Regions from separate parts of the Homo sapiens genome. Here all the other regions are linked to region 7. The links are contacts of gene promoters, found by promoter capture Hi-C in blood cells and fetal thymus (Javierre and others, 2016). All regions are on one chromosome and are shown on one strand. The core of a region is centred on a gene start or on the middle of the fragment in contact, and the rest is flanking DNA. Distances in the headings are between cores, read along the strand shown. Region 1 overlaps LRP4 (LDL receptor related protein 4). Region 2 holds the start of CKAP5 (cytoskeleton associated protein 5). Region 3 overlaps CKAP5 (cytoskeleton associated protein 5). Region 4 overlaps CKAP5 (cytoskeleton associated protein 5). Region 5 overlaps CKAP5 (cytoskeleton associated protein 5). Region 6 overlaps LRP4 (LDL receptor related protein 4). Region 7 holds the start of ARFGAP2 (ARF GTPase activating protein 2).

The links. The method cuts DNA at HindIII sites, captures the fragments that hold promoters and counts their contacts. A CHiCAGO score of 5 or more calls a contact.
Region 1: a fragment that was not itself captured here is called in contact with the fragment with the promoter of ARFGAP2 in region 7 in 9 of 17 cell types (M2 macrophages, M1 macrophages, megakaryocytes and 6 more); the score reaches 13.7 in M2 macrophages.
Region 2: a fragment that was not itself captured here is called in contact with the fragment with the promoter of ARFGAP2 in region 7 in 6 of 17 cell types (M1 macrophages, megakaryocytes, M2 macrophages and 3 more); the score reaches 9.6 in M1 macrophages.
Region 3: a fragment that was not itself captured here is called in contact with the fragment with the promoter of ARFGAP2 in region 7 in 3 of 17 cell types (M1 macrophages, megakaryocytes and M2 macrophages); the score reaches 11.2 in M1 macrophages.
Region 4: a fragment that was not itself captured here is called in contact with the fragment with the promoter of ARFGAP2 in region 7 in 2 of 17 cell types (erythroblasts and M1 macrophages); the score reaches 7.0 in erythroblasts.
Region 5: a contact is called between a fragment that was not itself captured here and the fragment with the promoter of ARFGAP2 in region 7, in 3 of 17 cell types (M0 macrophages, erythroblasts and megakaryocytes). The highest score is 6.8, in M0 macrophages.
Region 6: a contact is called between a fragment that was not itself captured here and the fragment with the promoter of ARFGAP2 in region 7, in 2 of 17 cell types (M2 macrophages and erythroblasts). The highest score is 6.6, in M2 macrophages.

What each region holds. Positions count from the first base shown.
Region 1 is chr11:46,902,170-46,905,819 of GRCh38, reverse strand. It overlaps LRP4 (LDL receptor related protein 4), which reads left to right. Exons shown (of 38, transcript NM_002334.4): 2 at 2,891-3,037. Among named protein-coding and RNA genes, the nearest start is that of LRP4, 15 kb to the left of the region's middle. The HindIII fragment of the contact is 3,483 bases long and covers 1-3,165 here.
Region 2 is chr11:46,845,274-46,848,480 of GRCh38, reverse strand. CKAP5 (cytoskeleton associated protein 5) reads left to right here and starts at 2,201. Exons shown (of 44, transcript NM_001008938.4): 1 at 2,201-2,261. LRP4-AS1 (LRP4 antisense RNA 1) reads right to left here and starts at 2,070. Exons shown (of 3, transcript NR_038909.1): 1 at 1,982-2,070; 2 at 1,764-1,871. RefSeq lists enhancers at 1,807-1,926, 2,381-2,958 and silencers at 2,137-2,216, 2,397-2,546. The HindIII fragment of the contact is 8,680 bases long and covers 1-3,207 here.
Region 3 is chr11:46,782,840-46,786,067 of GRCh38, reverse strand. CKAP5 (cytoskeleton associated protein 5) reads left to right here. Exons shown (of 44, transcript NM_001008938.4): 17 at 1,395-1,580; 18 at 2,700-2,794. Among named protein-coding and RNA genes, the nearest start is that of SNORD67, 22 kb to the right of the region's middle. The HindIII fragment of the contact is 231 bases long and covers 1,412-1,642 here.
Region 4 is chr11:46,765,151-46,768,449 of GRCh38, reverse strand. It overlaps CKAP5 (cytoskeleton associated protein 5), which reads left to right. Exons shown (of 44, transcript NM_001008938.4): 27 at 787-875; 28 at 3,194-3,299. Among named protein-coding and RNA genes, the nearest start is that of SNORD67, 4.3 kb to the right of the region's middle. The HindIII fragment of the contact is 1,839 bases long and covers 700-2,538 here.
Region 5 is chr11:46,820,233-46,823,865 of GRCh38, reverse strand. CKAP5 (cytoskeleton associated protein 5) reads left to right here. Exons shown (of 44, transcript NM_001008938.4): 2 at 2,598-2,691. The coding sequence starts at 2,635. Among named protein-coding and RNA genes, the nearest start is that of CKAP5, 24 kb to the left of the region's middle. The HindIII fragment of the contact is 8,913 bases long and covers 1-3,633 here.
Region 6 is chr11:46,863,096-46,866,473 of GRCh38, reverse strand. It overlaps LRP4 (LDL receptor related protein 4), which reads left to right. Exons shown (of 38, transcript NM_002334.4): 35 at 1,288-1,355; 36 at 1,939-2,026. The region is part of intron 2 of LRP4-AS1 (LRP4 antisense RNA 1); the gene reads right to left. Among named protein-coding and RNA genes, the nearest start is that of LRP4-AS1, 18 kb to the right of the region's middle. The HindIII fragment of the contact is 5,453 bases long and covers 1-3,378 here.
Region 7 is chr11:47,175,287-47,178,503 of GRCh38, reverse strand. ARFGAP2 (ARF GTPase activating protein 2) reads left to right here and starts at 1,625. Exons shown (of 16, transcript NM_032389.6): 1 at 1,625-1,722; 2 at 1,870-1,988; 3 at 2,581-2,653; 4 at 3,191-3,217. The coding sequence starts at 1,651. It overlaps PACSIN3 (protein kinase C and casein kinase substrate in neurons 3), which reads left to right. Exons shown (of 11, transcript NM_016223.5): 10 at 17-138; 11 at 458-982. The coding sequence ends at 573. RefSeq lists enhancers at 498-547, 628-677, 525-1,106, 1,648-1,877 and a silencer at 1,168-1,597. The HindIII fragment of the contact is 14,588 bases long and covers 1-3,217 here.

The DNA of each region.
Region 1 (3,650 bases), core at 175-2,674, 270 kb after region 7:
AGTGCAATGGCATGATCTCCCCTCACCGCAACCTCTGCCTCCTGGGTTCAAGCAATTCTCCTGCCTCAGCCTCCCAAGTAGCTGGGATTACAGGTGCCCACCACCATACCCGGCTCATTTTTGTATTTTTAGTAGAGACGGGGGTTTCACCACATTGGCCATGCTGGTCTTGAACTCCTGACCTCAGGTGATCCGCCCACCTGGGCCTCCCAAAGTGCTGGGATTACAGGCGTGTAATCCTGTATAGAATTATACACGTTATAGAGTCTTTAGCAGCATCCCTAGCTTCTACCCACCAGATGTCGGTAAGCACCGCCAAGCAGGACAACCAAAAATGTCTCCAAACATTGCTAAATGTCCTCCGGGGGACAAAATATCCCCAGTTGAGATCCTTATTAGCCTTATCCTTTTTCTTCACCATGATACCCCATGAAGGGGATCTGTGTACCGGGGAGTCCCATCACATGGAGTGGAATTAAACATCTTTGCTGTTCAATCCAGCTAGAGTTCACCAAAAGGGTGCCTACAGCTGTGCTGAGCCTGTCATACTACTGAAGTTCCTCAGGCTGTGTTGTCCAGGATCTGAGTGAGAAAAACCCTCCTCCCTTCTCAGAGTTCTCAGGCCAGAAAGGATGGAGTGGGGGCAGGGGCACCTGGGTCTTTTAGTGCTTCCTGGGGAAGAATCCTCTACCCTGCATTTGTAGAGAGACCCGAAGAGACAGGAGCACTGGGCTTGGAGCAAGGCCTTCCTGTGAGGTCTAGAGACACTGCACCTCCCAACTGGACCTCACTTGGCTTCCGCAGGAAATCCTGCATCTTTTTTTTTTTTTTTTTTTTTTTTTTTGAGACAAGGTCTCATCCTGTCACCATGGCTGGAGTGCAGTGGTGAGATCATGGCTCACTGCAGCCTCAACCTCCCGGGCTCAAGTGATTCTCCCACATCATGCTCCCAAGTAGCTGAGAGTACAGGTGTCCACCACCATGCCTGGCTAACTTTTGTAAATTTCTTTTCTGTAGAGACAGGGTTTTGCCATGTTCCCCGGGCTGGTCTCAAAACTGCTGTGCTCAAAGGATCCACCTGCCTCAGTCTCTCAAAGTGCTGATATTACAGGCATGAGCCACCGTGCCCAGCCCAATCCTGCATCTTTTCTAGAGCAGCTGATTACCATAGCATGTGGAGGGAGAGGGCCAGGCCTCAGTTGAGAATCTGGTGAAAGCTGTGATCCCTTACCCCAGAAACGTACATTATACCTGTAGCATCAGGGATTCACAGAACCCAAAAGCCATCCATCCATCCATCCATCCATCCGTCTGTCCGTCCATCCATCCATCCATCCATGCATTGCAGGCTAGGAAGTTTTACCTTATGCTTGCACTTACTCTTGGGGTTGAGATGGAGAGGGAAAGTTCTAGAGCTCTCTCCCTGCTTTTGGAGGGCATGGCAGCACACCTTTTTATCCTGGCCCTAAGCCCTAGGCTAGGCCAAGGAATTATAATGTGAGACAAGGATGTACATCAAGGAGATGAGCTGAGAGAGAAAAGCTGGACCAGGTACAGAGTATAGGAAGAGGGGTGACAATTTCGAGCTGACTCCTTCTCTGTTTCAGCCCAGCCTGAGGGCAGGGTCCAGCTGAGGGAAGGAAGAGGAGAAGAAAGGAAGGGGGAGAGATGAGCCATGCGCTGCGGCCCCCTCCTTCCCCAGCTGCGAGCAGAGCAGCCCAGCGGGTTGGATGAATGCTGGGAGGGGGGAGAGTGACCCTGGCAGAACCCTTTGTTCCAGCTGAGGCTGGAGCAGGGCACTGAGCCATTCACACGCCATCCCAGGGCATCCTGCTGGGCACGCTGGGGAGGGGGCACAGCAGCTGGTCATGGGACTTGGCCAGGCAGATAGCTCGATGCTCAATAGGGAAGCCCAGCTGCGTGCTGCTGAAGCCGGGGGAGAGGCTGCATCTGCCAGCCTTCCTCAAGGCTGTGGCCTGTGCCACAGACAGGAAGGCCCTGGCAGGTCCCAGTTACTCTGCCCTGAGGTGGCCTGGGGGACTCAGAGCAGCCCACCCTGCTTCCTGCTCCCCTGTGTGGATTCCTTATCCTAAAGAGGCTCCAGCATTTTAATTCCACCATTAGTTCTTGCCCTCCCTGGCCAACATCCCAGGGTCTGGTCCAAGACAGAGGCAGAGCGTCCATATCTCAACCTAGTTTTAGTGAGAAGGCTATGGAGGCCTCTCAACATCACCCTTTCTGTCCCTTGTTCCTCTTCTTCAAAAGCACCAAACCTCTGAGTGGCATCATTTTTTTTTGGAGGGGGTTGTTTCTTTTTTTCTTTTTTGAGACAAGGTCTTGCTCTGTTGCACCTGCTGGAGTGCAGTGGTGTGATCATAGCTCACTGCAGCCTTGACCTCCCAGGTTCAAGCAATCCTCCCACCTCAGCCTCCCAAGTAGCTGGGACTACAGGCACATGCCACTACCCTCAGCTAATTTTTTAGTTTTTTGTAGAAACAAGGTCTCACTATGTTGCCCACGATGGTCTTGAACTTCTGAGCTCAATCAATCCTCCCATCTCAGCCCCTCAAAGTGCTGTGATATAGGTATGAGCCACTGTGCCTAGCCTAGGTGGCATCATCTGTTTCTGGGCCCTTAGAGGTGCCATGCAAAAAAGCCCTGTCATAGAGCGGGTCACCTGGACTCTTTGTAAGCCCAAAGTCAGAGGGTATCTGCTGGGTCGTTTATGCCCTGGAGGAGGCATGGTTTTACTGCCTGCATCTCCCTTGAAGTGTCACTGTGACTCTCCAGGTGACAGTGCCCCTGGACTAGGCTCCTCTACTTTCCCCTCGGAATGGGCTTGGGTTGAGTGGGAGCTGAGCCCTCACTGATTCCTTTTCCCTCCGCCCAGGCCTGGCCAGCAGCCCCGAGTGTGCTTGTGGTCGGAGCCACTTCACATGTGCAGTGAGTGCTCTTGGAGAGTGTACCTGCATCCCTGCCCAGTGGCAGTGTGATGGAGACAATGACTGCGGGGACCACAGCGATGAGGATGGATGTAGTAAGTACCTCCCCAGAGGCAGTGGGAGGTGGTGGAGAGGGACCTGGGGGTGGGGGGCAAGGACAAGGCTGATGGAGTATTTTCTGCATCAACTGTGTCGGACTCAGAGAGTTGGTCTTTTGCAAGCTTGATAGATATTGACATTTGGGTAGTTTCTTCACTATATATGGCTCCAACTCTCCTGTGTTTCTTTTGGTTGGTTCATGCATATATGTCCAAGAAAACAAACTTGACAACACGTGTAAGAGAACACAACAGGGAGTTTCTTTAAATAGGTCTCTCTGTATTTATGTGAATATGTTTGTGTATATGTACCGCATATTTGTGCGTTTTAAAATTTATATACTATACACAAATGTGGATTATTTCTATGTTTCTTATTTTGGTATTTTGTACAATAAAACCTTTTTTTTTTTTTTTTTTTGATACAGAGTCTCATTCTGTTTCCCAGGCTGGAGTGCAGGGGCACAGTCTAGGCTCACTGCAACCTCCACCTCCCAGGTTCAAGTGATTCTCCTGCCTCAGCCTCCTGAGTAGCTGGGACTACAGGCATGTGCCACCATGCCCAGCTAATTTTTTGTATTTTTAGTAGAGATGAGGTTTCAACATTTTG
Region 2 (3,207 bases), core at 584-3,083, 330 kb after region 7:
GGGTGGATCACTTGAGGTCAGGAGTTCAAGACCAGCCTGGCCAACAGGTGAAACCCCGTCTCTACCAAAAATACAAAAAATTAGCTGGGCTTGGTGGCACATGCCTGTAATCCCAGCCACTTGGGAGGCTGAGATAGGAGAATCGCTTGATCCTGGGAGGTGGAGGTTGCAGTGAGCTGAGATGGTGCCATCGCACTCCAGCCTGGGCGAGAGAGCGAGACTTCATCTCAAAAGAAAAAAAAAGAAAAAAAAAAAAGGGCCGGGCACAGTGGCTCACGCCTGTAATCTCGGCACTTTGGGAGGCTGAGGCAGGTGGATGACCTGAAGTCAGGAGTTTGAAACCAGCTTGACCAACATGGTGAAACCCCATCTCTGTTAAAAATACAATAAAAAATAATTAGCCGGGCGTGGTGGCAGGTGCCTGTAATCCCAGCTACTTGGGAGCCTGAGGCAGGAGAATTGCTTGAACCCGGGAGATGGAGGTTGCAGTGAGCCAAGATCACGCCATTGCACTACAGCCCGGGTGACATGAGAGAGACTCTGTCAGAAAAAAAAAAAAAAAAAGCCGGGTGCAGTGGCTCACGCCTGTAATCCCAGCACTTTGGGAGGCCCAGGCGGGAGGATCACGAGGTCAGCAGATCAAGACCAGCCTGGCTAACACAGTGCAACTCCGTCTCTACTAAAACTACAAAAAATTAGCCAGGTGTGATGGCACGTGCCTGTAGTCCCAGCTACTCAGGAGGCTGAGGCAGGAGAATCGCTTGAACACGGGAGGCGGAGGTTGCAGTGAGCTGAGATTGCGCCACTGCACTCCAGCCTGGGCGACAGAGCGAGACTGTCTCAAAAAAAAAAAAAAAAAAAGCAGTATTGCAGTAAACATCCTTGTACATTTTTCTTTGCATACTTGCACAGATCTGTACGATAAATTCCTCATAGTGGATTACTGGGCCAGAACTAGATTATGTACATTTTAGTAACTGTCAAATTGTCCTCCTAAAGGTTTGTACCAATTATACTCTTACCAATATTGACTTTGAGTGTCCATTTTTCCAAATCTCTTTATATTTTTAAAAACAGAGATGGGGTCTTGATAGCAAGACCCAGGTTGGTCTTGAACTCCTGGCCTCAAGCAATCCTCCTGCCTCGGCCTCCCAAAGCGCTAGGATTACAGGCATAAGCCATTGCACCCAGCCTGTTTTTCCAAATCTTGACCAACCAAAGGCTGTTGAACTTTTTCATCTCTGCCAACTTGACAATGAAAAAACATGTAATTGTTTCATTTACTTTTATCCATCCTCTCTCCATCTTTTAGCCTGTTGGGAATCTACACATTCTTTAAATCCTAGGTTAAAAATTCATCTTCCTCACAGATCCTCCCCCATCAAATTTCTCCTGTCTCTAAGCATTTATAGCTTTTCATTTATACAGTTATTACACTGCTTTGAATTTTAGTGACTAGTCTGTATGTTATATTCCTCCAACCACTGTAGATTACAAATTCCTTGGAAGTAAGGACCTGAACTCATTCACAGAAACACTGAATGTAGAGCTAAGCTAAAATTCTGGAGATCATGTTAACCAAGCCTCTCGTTTTTATAAGGGAATATTAAGCATTTGCAGGATGCGTTACAGTTCACAAAGGCTTTTCTCAGACATTCTATTAGTTATATTAACTCCTCCATTAAATTGTAAGGGAAACATCGTTATCCCATTTTACAGATAAGGAAACAACTCCAGAAGATTTACTGAGAAAAGTGATTTACTCAGAACAGTTCCAAGGTCAGAATCCAGCATCCTGGCTTCATTCGCTGTTACTTCCACGACATCTCAGCTGCCTCTGGTTTCCCTCACAGCACTTAGCTTCACAATCTCTAGGGAATGAAATGACCAAAAAAAATTGTCGGGTGTTGACAGCAGCCTGAACATCTGTAATTAAATAAAGCAAACATGCTGACGACCAAGGATGCCCGGGTCTACACACATTCTTTCGCCTTTCTTTCTGGAGTCGGCAGACTTGCCCCCGGCAGCGACCAGCGTCCCCACCCGTGCAGGCGGCGTCTGGTCCAGAGGGAAACACGGCTGCGCGCGGCCCCTTTAAGGCTGCGGGCGGCGCGTGCCCACAGGCCTTTCAAATGGACCAATAAAAGTCCGATGGGCGGTCCGTCGAGGACCAATAAAGAACGAGGACACTGCGGGGTGTGCGGCGGCCCAAGCGGTTTCAAACGGCTTAGAGCAGGCCGCTTGGTTCTGACCCAGCTGAGGTGAGTGGTCGGTGGGCCTGCCCCACCCGCGAGGCCCTCGAGTGCAGGCATCGCGCGCGCAGAGGAGCCCCTGAATCCTGGGCGGCTGGAGGTCTCCAGACGCGCGCCCCACTTGCCCCACGAACCCGGCAGGTCTGAGGCGGCGAAGCGAGCCGGAGGCCGGGGGACCTGCGGCGGGCAGGGCCGGGGGCGTGGGCGCTCGTGTGCGGCGGAGGCCGGGGTTGGGCTCCAGGTGGCCAGAGCGCGCCGCAGCGTGGCGCGGGTGGCAGCGTCCGCGGGGCGCGGGCGGTGCAGGGCCGCGCCTGGCGGCAGCGATTTACCAAGACTAGGGCGGGGGCCCCGAGAGCCGGCCCTGCTAGAGTGCCTCTCGCGTAATTGTCAAGTGAATGAATAAGTAAGCGCCTACGAGGGCTGTGGTGGTTGCGAAGGGCCTTGTCGCCCTGGAGCAAGGACAGCGGCACCGGGGCCTGGCCGCACACCTGTGTCCCTGCTGGCTTGCTGCGATGTGAACGATTCCGATCATCCACCACCCCGCCCTTAACGACTGGCTTTCTCTCTCTCAACGTGTCGGGAGCGTTCTGGTGTCCTTCCAGCCCTGGAGGTGTTGGGGAACCAATACAATAGCCAGCAGTGTGGGTTGGGCCTTGCTACTTTAAGGTCGGGCTCGGTGAACTAGATTCTTACTTTTGAGCTCTCCCCTCTACTTGTAATCGTGGTAATTGTTGAGCAGGATTGAAATGCATTCCGTTGTGTTTCTTGGATAGAAAATGATGAAAGGGTTGTTGCCAGAGTGGCTAGTGTGTGTTAGAAAATATATTCGTGTTGATGAATCTTAACAATGAGTTTTTTATTCAGCATCAATAGAGGTTGAAGTGGTTTTTGCAGAACTTGCCCCAAATTTATGCGTGGCTCTAATTTAATTCTCATGGGACCAAGGCATCAAATC
Region 3 (3,228 bases), core at 278-2,777, 390 kb after region 7:
GCAGAAGTCCCACCCAAGATAATTACATTTCTTTGGTTTGTTTTTTGGTTTGGGAATTTTTTTTTTAATTTTTTAAATTTTTATTTTTTCACATGCCTGCTATGTCAAATTTTGGGGGTTTGAGACAAAGTCTCACTCTCTTGCCCAGGCTAGATAGTGCAGTGGTGTCAACATGTCTCTCTGCAGCTTCAGCCTCCTGGGTTCAAGTGATCCTCCCACCTCAGCCTCCCAAGTAGCTGGGACTACAGGCGAGGGCCACCATACCCAACTAATTTTTGTACTTGTTGTAGAGCTGGGGTCCCTCCATATTGACCAGGCTGGTCTTGAACTCCTGGGCTCAAGCATTCCCCTCGACTCAACCTACCAAAGTGCTGGGATTACAGGCATGAGCCAGGCGATAATTGCATTTTAAAAGAGGATGTTTGTGTGGCTGGGCACAGTGGCTCACGCCTGTAATCCCAGCACTTGGAGAGGCTGAGGTGAGATCCCACTTGAGATCCACTTGAGGTCAGGAGATCGAGACCAGCCCGGCCAACATGGTGAAACCTCATCTCTACTAAAAATACAAAAATGAGCCAAGCGTGGTGGCGGGCGCCTGTAAGTAATCCCAGCTACTTGCGAGGCTGAGGCATGAGAATCGCTTGAACCCAGGAGGCAGAGGTTGCAGTAAGCTGATATCTCACCACTGCACTCCAGCCTGGGTGACAGAACAAGATTCTGTCAAATAAATACATAAATAAATGGGAGTATTTGTCACCTAAATTAATCTGTATAATAGGATTTCTAGTGGCGTAACAAAAAAAGTTAAAATATTCACACAGTACAAAGAAAAATATTTATGAGCAAAGGGGTCCTTAATCCCATAGGTCTGCCATCACAATAATATCTTTAAATTATTTTCCACAGATCTTTTTATTCTTATACTTAAAAGCCAACAAGTTCTCTAAAATCTCTGAAGTTCTGTGTTGCATGTGTGTATAAGAGGGTTGTAGTGTTTTTGTAGGCAGCCCTAGTAGTAATTCTCAGTTATGCAGTCAGTATAGTAATTTATTGTGTATTTTAGGGTGTGTATTCAGTACTAAATGCAAATAATCATAAGAGGAGGAAAATTTAAAAATCAGATTTTTCAATTAATAAACTTTCTGTGCAATATTACTTGTTAGTATTTTGGAACACTGAGTAGCTTTTTTTCCCTCTCTTCACTGTCAGTTAAGTAATTGGTAACAATTAAAGGATACAAATTATTTTGCATATTTGTTTAAAATCCTGATTTTACTTTAGTTGTGTTTCCAGCTGTCCCTAACCATGTCATATCTGTTACATGCTGTTAATACAAGTAAATAAATAAATGTCCTTGGCTTGCTCTTAGCTTTATGATACTGATCCTTGTTCAGGTGATGCAAATGAAGCTTCATATAGTTGCTTTGATTGCCCAGAAGGGAAATTTTTCCAAAACGTCAGCTCAGGTTGTATTAGATGGCCTTGTGGACAAGATTGGAGATGTGAAATGTGGGAACAATGCAAAAGAAGCTATGACAGCAATAGCCGAAGCCTGTATGTTACCATGGACTGCTGAACAGGTTAGTGACACAGAAGTCTTATTCCTCTAGTTTTCCCAATTTTTTCCCCCAAACTTTAAGCTTACTAATTAAACATTAGTTTTTATCTTCTCAAGTAAAATCTTTTTTGATACTGCATTTTTTTTGAGATGGAGTTTCACTCTGTCGCCCAGGCTGGAATGCAATGGTGCAATCTCGGCTCACTGCAACCCTCCCGGGTTCAAGTGATTCTCCTGCTTCAGCCTCCCGCATAGCTGGGATTACAGGCACCTGCCACCACGCCTGCCTAATTTTTGAATTTTAATAGAGACAGGATTTCGCCACGTTGGCCAGGCTTGTCTCGAACTCCTGACCTCAGGTGATCTGCCTGCCTCGGCCTCCCAAAGTGCTGGGATTACAGGTGTGAGCCACCATGCCCGGCCCTTTGATACTGCATTTTTATTTTTACCTTAAAAAATACTCTATTGCCTAGTGATGAAAATTCATCTTAGTCAAAAATATTCGGTCAGACACAGAGGCTCACACCTGCAATCCCAGCACTTTGGGAGGCCGAGGCAGGAGGATGACTTGAGGCCAGGAGTTTGAGAGCAGCCTGGCCAACATGGTGAAATCCCGTCTCTACCAAAAATACAAAAATTAGCCAGGCGTGGTGGTGCACACCTGTAATGCCAGCTACTAGGGAGGCTGAGGCAGGAGAATCACTTGAACCTGGGAGACAGACGTGGCAGTGAGCCGAGATCACGCCACTGTACTCCAGCCTGGGCAACAGAGTGAGACTGTCTCAAAACAAATAAACAAAAAATTCTATAGAAGGTGAAAGCCCACGAGCTTGAGGCTGCAATGATTGATGATTGTGCCACTGTACTCCTGGGTGACAGAGCAAGACCCTGTCTCTAAAAAAAAAAAAAAAACATTATAATGCAGAGTAATTGCTGCAAAGCTATAAATAGTCCAGAATGCCTTTAGTCCTACTATCATTTCACCTCATTTTCTTGTGTAGGTTCACTCTTGTTCCTAAGGCATTCTTGCAGTTGTTTTAGCGTCAGAAAACTAGTTTAATGCACATCTGCCTTAATGTCATGCTGTATTTCTATAAGAAATACGAGATAAAACACAGATCTGCTGTTTTTCCCTTTTCAGGTTGTGTCAATGGCTTTCTCACAAAAGAATCCCAAAAATCAGTCAGAAACTCTGAATTGGCTATCAAATGCCATAAAAGAATTTGGTTTTTCTGGGTAAGTCAGAACGAAATCAAGTGGAAAATAGTTAAATGTTCTGTCAGTCTCTAAGTCGTGCTGTTTATAATAATAGCTATTGCTGTTTATTTCTGAAGAGTGAGAGCTGGATTGTCTCATTTATATAAAAGAAAATTACCTTTGTTCTCAAAGGTCTATATTGGCTTGTGTTCCTGCTTTTTGATGTTCACTGAAAGAGTTCTCTACGTTATTTTTCCTTAAGCATTAATAGCTGTCCCACAGAAAATCCAGTTCCAAGAATTTCTAGTCAAATACATTAGGAAATTTCTGTATATAATTACATTTGTTTAAAGACCTATAGTATGCCTTGGCGAATTAACTGCTGTCAGAAATCCTGCAATAGAAGAGCTTGTTTAACTTTGTTTAACCCACTGTTCCCAAACTTATTTGCTTATAGAGCACGGTTGTTTATT
Region 4 (3,299 bases), core at 370-2,869, 410 kb after region 7:
ATTCCACCACTTTGAGAGGACAAGGAGGTCAAGACCAGCCTGGGCAACATAGTGGGACCCTGTCTCTAAAAAAAAAAAAAAAGTTGTTTTAATTAGTTGGGCTTGGTGGTGCACGCCTGTAGTCCCAGCTATTCAGGAGGCTGAGGTAGGAGGACTGTTTTAGCCAGGGAGGTCAAGGCTGCAGTGAGCCCTGAACGTGCTATTGCACTCTAGTCTGTGTGACAGAAACCCTGTCTAAACAAACAAATGAAACTACAGTTTAAATGTTGGTAAATGAGATACAGATTTTCTGAATTAATTTCTCTCTTACGCTTAAAGATTTTGGGAGAAAAATTATTAGGAAAAAAAAATCTAAGCCAGGCACAGTGACTCACGCCTGTAATCCCAGCACTTTGGGAAGCCAAGGTGGGTGGATTGCTTGAGCCCAGGAGTTTGAGACCAGCCTGGGCAACATGGCGAAACCCTGTCTCCACAAAAATTACAAAGAAAATTAGCTGGGTGCGGTGGCACGGGCCTGTAGTCCCAGCTACTAGGGAGGCTGAGGTGGGAGAATTCATTGAGCCCAGGAGGTCAGGACTGCAGTGAGCACCGTGAAGGCACCACTGTACTCCAGCCTGGGAGATAGAGCAAAATCCTGTCTCATAAAAAAAAAACTAACTGAAAACATCTTATAAATTGATACATTTAAGACTGCAAGCTTCCTTGTCATCATTATATATTTAACCTGTCCAAAATAAAATGATATTAGTTAAAGTTTATAGTATATATATATTTTTTTCCTCAAAGCACCTGCTGAAGATTGTATTTCCAGCAGTACAGAACCCAAACCTGATCCAAAAAAGGCCAAAGCTCCAGGATTATCCTCTAAAGCAAAGGTATGTTAACTCTGTATACTTCGATGTAGACTTGCTTTTAAATATATTTTATATACTGAGTCATTCTATTAGGAAGGATCATATTATATATAAAAGAACATCACTGCTGTTGATATTATCAAATTATTTATACAAATTTCTGTGGTTCATTTTTAATAAGGTCCTAAAACGGAGACATCCTGCTCTCAAGAGGTGCTGTCATCTTCCTTTCATGTAGATTTTCGGGGAAAGATTTACTTTATTGAAAGAAGAAAGGGCCGGGCACAGTGGCTCACGCCTGTAATCCCAGCACTTTGGGAGGCCGAGGCAGGCGGATCACCTGAGGTCAGGAGTTCGAGACCAGCCTGGCCAACATAGCGAAACCCTGTCTCTCCTAAAAATACAAAAATTAGTTGGGCATGGTGGCACACCTGTAATCCCAGCTACTTGGGAAGTTGAGGCAGGAGAATCGCTTGAACCCAGGAGGTGGAGGTTGCAGTGAGCCAATATCTCGCCATTGCACTCCAGCCTGGATGACAGAGCGAGACTCAGGAAAAAAAAAAAAAAGGAGAAAGCATTTGTAGCTCTGGCATAATAAACACTTTAGGCTGATTTGGATTTAAGAAAAGGAAGTTAAATCAACCTCCTTCAAATTTGGCACTGTTGTCATCATATTAGAAGATGTTTCGGTTAGTCTGCAGGGAAATATCTTTTGTCCCAGTGGGATTTATTTTGATGCATCAGCAATTCTTTCAATATTCATGGAGAGTTGGACAATTTAAAGCAGTGTGTTCAAATGTTCAACTTTATCCTCTGGGTGATTTTTTCATTTAATTAAGTTTTAAAATCACAGTAAATTGTCATTATCTCTATCAAGATTGAGATTAATAAACATATTCAGAGTGTTAATTATTTAACACTTACAAAAGGAAAATTGCAAAACTGTGCAATGGGTAATGAATCTAATAGTAAGTCTAAATAGAGAATTATTTAATTTACTTCCTGTAATTGATGAAAAAATATAGAGAATGTTTTTTAACCAGTACATGTATTATTACACCCCCATTTTGGAGTACACACTCTAGGGCCTTTCTTCTAAATATTACAATTAACCATTTTTCTTCCCTATGCTCAGGCCCTTTAACTCCTCAGTGAATTAATTTAAATGGGTAATTATCTTCAACTATCCAATGACGTTGTTCTTTTCCTGTCTGCCTGTCCTCATCCCAAATTTAACAAGTGCTTATTTTAGTTTAGATCACGAGTGTTTTGCAGTATTTTTGACTCCGTTCTTAATGCCATAATTTTTTTCCCAATCTTTTTAAACTTACGAAGCAGTTTCATATAAATGATCTCATATTTGTTTGGTCTGAATGACATTAGTGTTTATACTAGAAAGAAATTGTGGCCAACTAGAAATAGTGGCCATGCTACATTTATAATAATAATGATTCCAGTAATGAAATTTGAATTTTACCTTAAATATGTGTACTATTGTTTACTATTTTCTTTCTATCTGATATGAAGATTTTAAATCTTGGATTATTTTTTAAAACCACTTTAGTGACTTAAATATTTAAAGCATTTCTTGTAACTTTCTCTAGAAGCAAGTTCAAAAGGTCTTCAGTTACACTGTTATGATAAGAGATACATTTAAATATCAATGGAAAGAAACAGAAAAGCTTTCAAACTAAGTGTTTGGAAATGTGTAAATGCCATTCAAGATGTCATTAATGGCTGAGGTGGGTGGATCACTTGAGGTCAGGAGCTCGAGACCAGCCTGGACAACATGGTGAAACCCTGTCTCTACTAAAAATACAAAAATTAGCCAGGGGTGGTGGTGGGCGCCTTTGGTCCCACCTACTGAGGAGGCTGAGTCAGGAGAATCACTTGAACCTAGGAGGTGGAGATTGCAGTGAGCTGAGATCACGCCACTGCACTCCAGCCTGGGCGACAGAGTGAGACTCCGTCTCAAAAAAAAAAAAAAAAAAAAAAAGATGTCATTAATATGGAAAGCTATAAATAGTGTTGAAGATTTCAAGAAAACAAAAACAAAAAGTTTGTGACCTAGACTAATGATCAGTAATAGCAGTTTTTCCAACTACATAACATGCCAGTCCAAGAACTAACCAACAGTTACTTAAGAATATTCTCAGAAAAATTTCTAGAGAACCTGTTCAAAAACATATACAAGATTCTGTGATGCATGTTTTTTTCATGTGAAATATCACGTAGAAAGATATCTCTGTTTTCTACAGTGCCCTTTTACTGGGCAGCAGCATCATATTCTTAAGGAGAAGTGGCCAAGCTAATCAGTATTCCCTGAACCTTGGTTGTAGAGTGCACAAGGGAAGAAGATGCCAAGCAAAACCAGCTTAAAGGAGGATGAAGACAAATCCGGGCCTATTTTTATTGTTGTTCCAAATGGAAAAGAGCAAAGGATGA
Region 5 (3,633 bases), core at 116-2,615, 350 kb after region 7:
CTATGTTATTAATAATATTGAAAAATCGGCCAGCCTGGGCAACATAGTAAGACCCCATCTCTACAAAAAACTAAAAAATTAGTTGGGCATGGTGACATGTGCCTGTAGTCCCAGCTCCTTGGGAGGCTAAGGCAGAAGAATCACTTGAACCCGGGAGGCGGAGGTTGGGAGGATCACTTGAGCCCAGGACATCAAGGTTGCAATGAGCTGTGATCACACCACTGCACTCCAGCCTGGGTGACAGAGTGAGACCCTGTCTCAAAAATGAAAAAGAAAAATTGGAAACAATTTAAATGTCCAATGGTAGGGTTGGTAATTATGGTACATTTGTAAAATGGAGTGCTATGTAGACTTTAAACATCATATTCTCAAATCTGGGAAAATGTTTGTGATCATATAACAAAAATGTTGTAAGGGGATTATGCCTGTCTTTTTCATATGATTTATATTACTACATGTGTATTGAAAAAAAACTGGATACGTACTTTAGTGTTCATCATGGTTATTAGGTGGTGGTAAAATTGTATTTTAATACTTAGATTTTTTTCTGTAGTTACTAAATTTTCTGCAGTTTACACACATTACTTTTATAAGAAAAAGGTGTTGTCTAGATAGATAGCATAGGGGTGGGTGCGGTGGCTCACGATCAGTGGGATCACTTGAGCCCAGGAGTTCGAGACCAGTCTGGGCAATATAACGAGACCTTGTCTCTACAAAAAATTTCAAAATTAGCCGAGCATGGTGGTGCACACCTGCAGTCCCACCAAATCCTAGCTACTCAGGAGGCAGAGGTGGAAGGATCGCTTGAGCCCAGGAGGCAGAGGTTGCAGCGAGCCAAGATCGTGTTCATTCCACTCCAGCCTGGACGACAGAGCAAGACGCTGTCTCAAAAAAAAGAAGATAGGTAGCATAAAGTTATTAAAAGGATGTTGACTTTAAACCTCACTTAAAAACATGGTTTACATAAAGAATATGTATAAAGGTTCATTCAGGGATTTAATTTTGTACTTGTTTATATAAACATTGACTAGTCATGTTTGCTAGAATTAGGGAGCTTGGCAGTATCAACATTTTTACATATTGATTCTTTCCTTTTCTTTCTTTTTTTTTTTTTTTTTTTTTTTGGGACGGAGTCTGTTGCCCAGGCTGGAGTGCAGTGCGATCTCGGCTCACTGCAAGCTCCGCCTCTCGGGTTCACGCCATTCTCCTATCTCAGCCTCTAGAGTGGCTGGGACTGCAGGCGCCAGCCACCAAGCCCGGCTAATTTTTTGTGTTTTTAATAGAGATGGGATTTCACCGTGTTAGCCAGGATGGTCTCGATCCTGACCTCGTGATCCGCCCGGCTCGGCCTCCCAGACTGCTGGGATTACGGGCGTCAGCCACCACACCCGACCCCCATATTGATTATTTTCTATAAGTAATTCTAGGTGAAAGTATGACTTTTTCCAAAACTTTTTTCTTGGCCTTTTAAAAGGCCATTTAGCTCAGCAATTCAGTTTTATTCCAGCTTCGTTTTATATCTAAGAAGTTCTTATTTGGGAAAATAAAAGCATCATTTTTTAGAAAACAAATTTTTGGTTTTTTTGAGACAGGGTCTTGCTCTGTTGCCCATGCTGGAGTGTAGTGGCATGATCACAGCTCACTGCAACTTCTGTCTCTTGGGCTCAAGTAGTCCTCCCACCTCAGCTTCCCGAGTAGCTGGGACTACAGGCACACACACCACTACGCCTGGCTAATTTTTGTGTTTTTAGTATAGATGGGGTTCCACCATGTTGCCCAGACTGCAATATATTTATATTTATATTTTTTGAGTGACTTTATTTTTTTGAGATGGAGTCTTACTCTGTCGCCCAGGCTGGAATGCAGTGGGACAATCTTGGCTCACTGCAACCTCCTCCTCCCAGGTTCAAGCGATTCTCCTGTCTCAGACTTCCGAGTAGATGGGACTACAGGCCTGCACCACCACACCCAGCTAATTTTTGTATTTTCAATTGAGACGGGATTTCACCATGTTGACCAGACTGGTCTTGAACTCCTGATCTCAGGTGATCTGCCCACCTCAGCCTCCCAAAGTGCTGAGATTACAGGCATGAGCCACCACTGTGTCCTGTCTTTTGAGTGACTTTAAAAAAAAAATTCTATTGGCCGGGCGCGGTGGCTCACGCCTGTAATCCCAGCACTTTGGGAGGCCGAGGCGGGTGGATCACGAGGTCAGGATCGAGACTGTCCTGGCTAACATGGTGAAGCCCTGTCTCTACTAAAAATACAAAAAAATTAGCCGGGCGTGGTGGCGGGTGCCTGTAGTCCCGGCTACTCGGGAGGCTGAGGCAGGAGAATGGCGTCAGCCCAGGAGGTGTAGCTTGCAGTAAGCGGAGATCGGGCCACTGCACTCCAGCCTGGGTGACAGAGCGAGACTCCGTCTCAAAAAAAAAAAAAAAAAAAAAGTCCTGTTAATTGAATTAAGTGGGGATCTGACGAAAGAACGGGATTTTTACTCTTGTTGTTGCATGAATGATAAAATAATAATCTCAGAAAAGTTATTTTTGTCTTAAGAGACTGCCTGGTTGCTAAGCAGGTTTCTACCTTTATCTGACCAGGAAATACTCTTAATTCTAAGGAAAACCTGGAAGCACAATGGGAGATGACAGTGAGTGGTTGAAACTGCCAGTTGATCAGAAATGTGAACACAAGGTAAGATTCTTCTGGAATTCGATTTTCAGTGTCGTTGGCTTGTTTTGTGAGCAGTTATACTATCATCTTACTTAGAAGTGTGTGAAAACATTGGCAGTTTCAAAAATACTGATGCCTTGTTAGATATGTTATTTTTTCTCATTGAAAATAGGTTTCTGTAGCTCAACTAAAAATTTTTTTGTCTCTGGAAAGAATTCAAAGAAAAGATATTAGTGAAGTGAAAAGTAAGTGGTATCTATGAAAAGTAACTGGCTAGTTTTTTCATCTCCTTGTATATACAGTACAATATACTTCTGGTACCTAAGTACTTACTAATATTTTATTATATAGAGACTCTTCTTTTGAGATGTGTTCTGAATTTGGCCTTAGAAATCCAGCATTTTTTAGGTTCTCTGATTTATATGATCGGCATTCCAATATTTACCCTCAGAATCTACCAATCTTTATTTTCTAGTTTATGCTAGTAAGATACAATTTATTACATCATGTCATTATTTGGTGGGCATCCTTTCAGATTATCTTATTTTTTCCCCAACTATACCTCTAGTTTCTTTCATTTTTAATCATTTTAAACAAACATCTACCATCTGGTAGATTTTAGAATTTCATTTCTTCTTGTAAATTTATTCTACTCCAAGTCCTCAGGTTTACCACTTTATGTTCTTGACAGTTCTTTTAAAGTTTGTTTTGAATCTGAGTATTCAAGATTTATGGTTGTTGATTACTAAAAATACTGAATAAAATATACTAACTTACACAGTTGTATACATACAGTTCTACCTATGTAGAGTAGAAATTTGGAGCCATGGTCCCTATATCCTCCACAGAACCACTCCTTCATCCTATATAATAAATTAGCCAAGGCCGAATACTGTATCAAAAATCAACATGTAGCTCTTCAAATAAGGCCAGATTAAAAGTGAGCTAGTTGGTTTTTATTCT
Region 6 (3,378 bases), core at 175-2,674, 310 kb after region 7:
TCTCTACAAAAAAGTTTTTTTTTAATTAGCCAGGCATGGTGGCCCATGCCTGTAGTCCCAGCTACTTGGGAGGCTGAGGTTGGGAGGATTGCTTGAGCCCAGGTTTAGGCTGCAGTGAGCTGTGATTGTGCCACTGCACACCAGCCTGGGTGACAGACTGAGACCCTGTCTCAAAAAAAAAACAAAAAACAAAAAATAAATAAATAAATAATCTGGAAATACATATGTGAATAAAGAAGAAGGGAATATCCTATACCTATATATAATTTACTCTTAATGTTTTGATGTCTATCTTTTCTAGACATTTTTCTAATTAGAACAGTTTTTTTTTTTTTCCACTGCAACATACTGGTCTCTTTATTTTTAATATCATCAGTAGCTTACAAGGTAGTTAACACTTGATTTCAATTCTGAAAGCAGAAACATAATAATGATCCCAAATAAAAACTTTAGACTCAATGTCCCTAAAGTTACAAGATTTGCACATGATCAAATTCATATGCTGTGTGCCCCCATTCTCTGTTTTTACTACAGTTTGTAAAGAAAAGGAAACACCCAGGTATAAACATGTGCCTTTCTCACTAACTTTTAAGTACTATCAGTCATTATTACTCTCGGATTTTCTTTAGGTTTATTTAGAAAACTTTTGACCCCGCTCGGACCTTTTCTTATTGTCAGAGTTCTATTTGAAAATTCAGTGCATCTTGGTTCCAAATGCTCTTGCAAGTAGCTTTCCTCTGGCTGTTTAGGAGATGCCTTTGATTGCCTGCTCATAATGTACCACAAAGAAGTCACCTTCTGAGCATTTCAAGTTAGTTATCTGAGCACTCCCTCTGGATGTCTTGCATATTCCCTTGTGAAAGAATGAAGAGAAGAAAAACATTTTTTGACCTTGGGATATTTAGCTCTTGTGATAATTTTTATCCAATCAGATTGGCTTGGCTAGCAGCTGCTTCTGACTCATCCTGGTAGTTTAAGAAAGCCTAATATTGATGTCCTTAGTATTCTTTCTGCAGACTTCCAACTCACTCCCAAACCTGCTTCTCATTTTTAAAGGTACATATTTTATAACACACTTAAACATGGTATAACGGCTTGAAAACAGTGCCTTGCACGGATTTCTCTCCATTTCCTGTTGTTGCCCTCTCCATGCTTCTGATGTCTTCCATCTTGTACATTCTCATACCTGAAAGCCCCCACTTACAGGCCTTTCCCCCTTTCCTGGAGGAAGGCATGACCTTCACTGAGTATGAGTAGGCTTCACATCCAGTTTTCTGTGCCCCACAGATGCTCTGAAAGGGATGCCAGGCTGGGCCTCTGTGCACGTTCCAATGACGCTGTTCCTGCTGCTCCAGGTAAGCCCTGAGTACCCCACTGTTCCGGAAAAGAAGATGTAATGAATCTAAGTCTCCACTGATATCTTTCATAACCTTCATTGGGACTCTGGGGTTGATGAACTCTTTTTAAACTAAGTCCATAGAAATAATAATCATAATAGCTCTCACCACTTACAGTGACAGCTTATGGTATGCTTTCCGTATGCCAGGCATGTGATAAGCCATATATATGCCACATTATATGTGTGTGCACATGCATATATACATACTCTCATGTAATTTCCTCCAGTCCTATGAGCAATTTATTATTTACATTTAACTAAAGAGAAAATGTAGGCTTACAAGTTAAGCATCTTGCCTTATGTCAGATAGCTAGGAAGTGGTCGAAATGGGATCAGAGATGCTGGCAGAGTGACAGATTTCTTCTCAGCCTCCTCCCTGCACCTCCCATTTACCTATCTGAAAAGGAGGCCCTTAGCCATCCTCAGATGGTATGGGGTCCAACACCTACAAAAGGAGCCTTTCAGCTTTCCATTCCTCACACCAGCACCGCTAGAAAGTTGTCGGTGGCCCCTGCCTAGTGTTTCTCTATTCTTCCTAGGGGAAGGACTTCATATCAGCTACGCCATTGGTGGACTCCTCAGTATTCTGCTGATTTTGGTGGTGATTGCAGCTTTGATGCTGTACAGGTAACTTCAGTCTTGCTACAGGGGCCACATGCTCATTGGTCTTCATGAGCATGTCTGGGATCTCCCGAAGCTCTGCAGTTCACTGAATCAAGCTCTGACCAGCCTTATTGCAAGGTTGGGTGCCTGGTCAGGGCAGCAGAAGGAAAGGGTGGAAACCTAAATACTTACTCTTCTCCAGTCACAGCCTAAGCATTTTCCTTATTGAATGACTGTAACAACCCTTCGGATTTTCTTTATAGACTAGGATGCTGAGTGCACAGAGGATATTACCCAAGGTCACAAAGTAAGAGGCAAATCTAAGACTGACTCTTAACATCTTTGCTTTTTCCAGTACTCCCTGCTTCAAACCACTGAAATTGGAAATGATTTTCCCCTTATACAAACACAGCCTTTTACTACAATATTGGTTTGTACATCTTTGCTCAGTAGCAATCATTCTGGAAAGGTAGAATGTGTCATTTATAATCTTTTTATGTCCCTCTTTCTTTATATTTTCCCCCAAATGCTTTAAACGTAGCTTACAGTTTGCTGCTGTTGTTCTTCATCATCATCATCGTAACAGTTACCATTAATGGATATATATCAATGTCATGACAACCTCGTAACACAGGTATTATTATTCCTCACTTTACAGATGAGGATCTGAGGCTCAGAAAGTTTATTTTTTTTAATTTTTGTCTTATTTTTTTGAGATAGAGTCTCACTCTGTTGCCCAGGCTGGAGTGCAGTGGTGCAATCTTGGCTCTCTGCAACCTCTGCCTCCTGGATTCAAGCAATTCTTGTGCCTCAGCCTCCCAAGTAGCTAGAACTACAAGCATGCACCACCATGCCCAGCTAATTTTTTTTTTTTTTTTTTTTTTTTTGTATTTTTAGTAGAGAGAGGGTTTCTTCCATGTTGGTCAGGCTGGTCTCGAACTCCTGGCCTTGTGTGATCTGCCCACCTCAGCCTCTCTAAGTGCCAAGATTACAGGTGTGAGCCACCGCACCCAGCCAGAGAGTTTAGATTATATCTATCAAGGTCCCAGCTAATAAATCACAGAGGTGGAATTGAAACAGATCTGTCTGACTCTAAAGCTCAGTGCATCAGTTCTCCATTGCTGCATAACAAATTACCCGAAAACTTAGTGACTTAAAATGACAACCATTATCTCACAGTTTCTATGGGTCAGAAATCTGGATGCAGCTTAGCTAGGTGCCTCTGCCTCAAGGTGTCTCACAGACTGCAATCCAGATATCAGCTGGGGTTACAGTCTCATCTCAAGGTTTGACCGGGGAAGGATCCCCTTCCACACTCACTCACATAGTTGTTGGTAGGATTCAGCTCCTCATAGGCTGTTGGCTGGAGGCCTTCC
Region 7 (3,217 bases), core at 376-2,875:
TGCCTCCCCTCTCCAGCACGGGGCAGGATGAGGAGTGGTCAGATGAAGAGAGTCCCCGGAAGGCTGCCACCGGGGTTCGGGTGAGGGCACTCTATGACTACGCTGGCCAGGAAGCTGATGAGCTGAGCTTCCGAGCAGGTACCCTGGGACCCCTTTCCTAGCTTCAGCCTCTGCCTTATCTGCCTGAGCAGGGGTGTCAGAAAGGGAAGCCAAATACCCACTTCTTAAGGGCCAGTCCTCTGTCCCTTCAGCTGTTCCAGGTCCAGATAGCTGGTGCCTGGTGGCTGCATTCAGGGTCTGGGGTGGGGCAGCTTGCTGACCTTGACCTGCCTCTGCCTGAGCCATGTCTTTGCTAGCTGGGCTCTGGGACCACACCATCCCCCTCAGTCCTTGACCCAGTTGCAGGAACAGGGCCTGGGCCAGGGCCACTGGCAGTGACCAATCCCCTTTCCCCCAGGGGAGGAGCTGCTGAAGATGAGTGAGGAGGACGAGCAGGGCTGGTGCCAAGGCCAGTTGCAGAGTGGCCGCATTGGCCTGTACCCTGCCAACTACGTGGAGTGTGTGGGCGCCTGAGTGTCCTGACAGCCCTTCTGCAACGTTTACCCACCCTGGTTCAGAGCCCAGCTTCTCCTGGAGAGCCGGACCCTCAGGGCCCTGAACCGTCGCTCTCTGGCTGCTCCTCTGTCCCTTGAGGGAGGAAGTCCTGGGACCCAGGGAGGGGAGGGGCCTTTGTCTAGGGAAGGGACTGGTAGGGAAGGGACGAGTCTAGGCTGAGGGCAAGATGGGAGGTCAGAGGTGACAGAAGCGTTCAGGGGTGCCTGGGCCTCCCCAGGAGCTGTGGACTCAGTTCCTGACCTCTGCTTTGGGGTTCCTGGGGTGGGCTTGGGGTGAGTGTAGTTCTGGCCTAGCAGCACCCTCTTGTGGCTTGTTCTAGCGTGTATTAAAACTTGACACACACCCACACACAAAAACAAAAACACCACTGTCGGGCTCATGTGCATTTTTTTGATAGGACACCCTTGCCAGGCCACCAGAGGGCATCTAGAGAGAGGCCTAGCGTCTGTTATGGGGCCGGGGTTGGAAAAGGGTTTGCCTGCTTGGTACCTGCTCTGGAACTTCGAGATACTAATCTGGAGTGGAGGGGACTCGCTGTCAGGCTTGCTGTTAACCGAGAACGGCTGAAGGCTGGGCGAGACGCGGGCCAATGCGTCTGCCCGTTCGGGCCGGAGGGACGAGGAGTGTTTGGGCAGCCTAATCCTTATTCATCGATCTGTAATTAGCTGGAGTGGGGGTCCCCGCCCCCAGCCTCCCGCAGCCTGCGCGGCGTGGGGGCGACTCCACCTGGGGGTTGCGGCGTGGGAGGGGCGGGGGGAAGGGTACTACGCGCGCGAGGAGGTTTGGGCCGGTCCGCGCGCCGTCGCCCCGCCCCGGCTGCGGATTGGCCCGGCGCGGCGTTGATTCTTGCGGCCGCGGTTGTCGTCGCCGCCCCCGTCCCGCCGGCTGCCCATTGGTCCAGATCGGACTCCAATCACCCCACCCCTCGGCTGGCCCAGGCACCGCTGAGGCCGGCCTGGTGAGCCCGCCCTCCCCGCCGTGGATTGGCCCGCGGCGGGACCCGTCAGCCGCGGTTGTGTCTGGGAAGGAGAGAAAATGGCGGCGGAGCCGAACAAGACCGAAATCCAGACTCTTTTTAAGAGGCTTCGCGCAGTTCCAACCAACAAGGTGCGTGAGCAGGGGGCGCGCGGAGTCTCTCGTCCCGCTGGGGCCTGAGGGAGGGAGAAGGGCGGAGGTGGGTTATGTTTCTGGGGTGTCGGTGCCTGGCCTTTACTCGGGGCCCCTGACGATTCGCTCATCGCCGCCTCCACCCAGGCCTGTTTCGACTGCGGCGCCAAGAATCCGAGTTGGGCCAGCATCACGTACGGTGTTTTCTTGTGCATTGACTGTTCCGGGGTGCACCGCTCCCTGGGCGTCCATCTGAGCTTCATCAGGTAGGCTCTCCGCGCGGTTGCCGTGTTTCCACCCGGCCGGCCAGGGGTGTCTGGGCAACAAGGGAGAGTGGCTGCCTCGACTTGGGCCGCTCTGAATTCGGTGGGAAGCCTCTGGGCCGAGAGGGTCCGGTAGCCTCCTGCCAGAGGGAACCACCTGTGTGGGCCCTTTGGCACATGGGCGGTCCGTCTCCGCCTCTGGGCCAAAACTTCCTCTTTTTTGACGGTCAGGCTTGAGACTCTGAGCGTTAGTTGAGGGGAAAGGGAGGCATTGACCTTGTTGTTGCTGATATGTTGTTAGACCAGTATGTCTCTAGTGAGACTGTGACCATCCATTAGGGGAAAGCCAAATCCAGGCGTGCGTGCCTGAGAATGTGACCTCCTTTCGGATCTGGGGACATAATTAGTACTCTTTGGAGTAAATGAACGAAGAGGAGAGTTTTCATGGACAGGGTAGTGTGGAGGAAATGGGGTGATGGCTGATTAATGTTTCCTGGGTGCCTACAGCAGCCTGAGGCCAAGTGACAGGTATCCGGGTTGCCAGGGAAATCCTGCTGGTATCTGCTAGTGGGTGAGACGCAGCCCTTGTACACAGGTCCACAGAGTTGGATTCCAACTGGAACTGGTTCCAGCTGAGGTGTATGCAGGTCGGCGGGAATGCCAATGCGGTAAAGCTCCTTCTACTTCCCTCACCTTCCATTCTTCTGCCTGGTTACTAACTTTGCACGACTCCCTAAGAGGCCCTGTCGTTTTCCCTGTTCAGAGGGTTCTCTGTTCTATAACACCACCATAAGCTATTTTCTGAAAACTTCGAAACTGGTCACAGCTTCTCTTAAATGGGTTTCAGATTCCAATTAAACTGGGCAGGTGTTCTTGGGGAAAAGCCACAGGAGTTGGGAGCCTTCACAGTCATTGGGTCTTGTGGGCCTGCCCTGGATGAAGGATGGGGAGGCTGGGTATGGGATGTTGTGCTCAGGCAGCGTTCAGTGGGGCCTGGACTTCAGTCATATCAGAGGATGGCCCGCTGCAAGGTGTTTTTTGCAGGAATTTCGAGAAACTTTATCTCTGAAAAACCGGTGTCAGTAGCGTGTATCATCCTGTATAGATAATAACTTCGCTGTCATAAGGAGATGTCTCCTACAGCCAACACGTTTCCTTCTTGAGAATCACCCGTAGCACGCGCTGCTCTCTTCTTTGCTCTCCAGACGGCTTTTTTTCGCCAACATGGATGC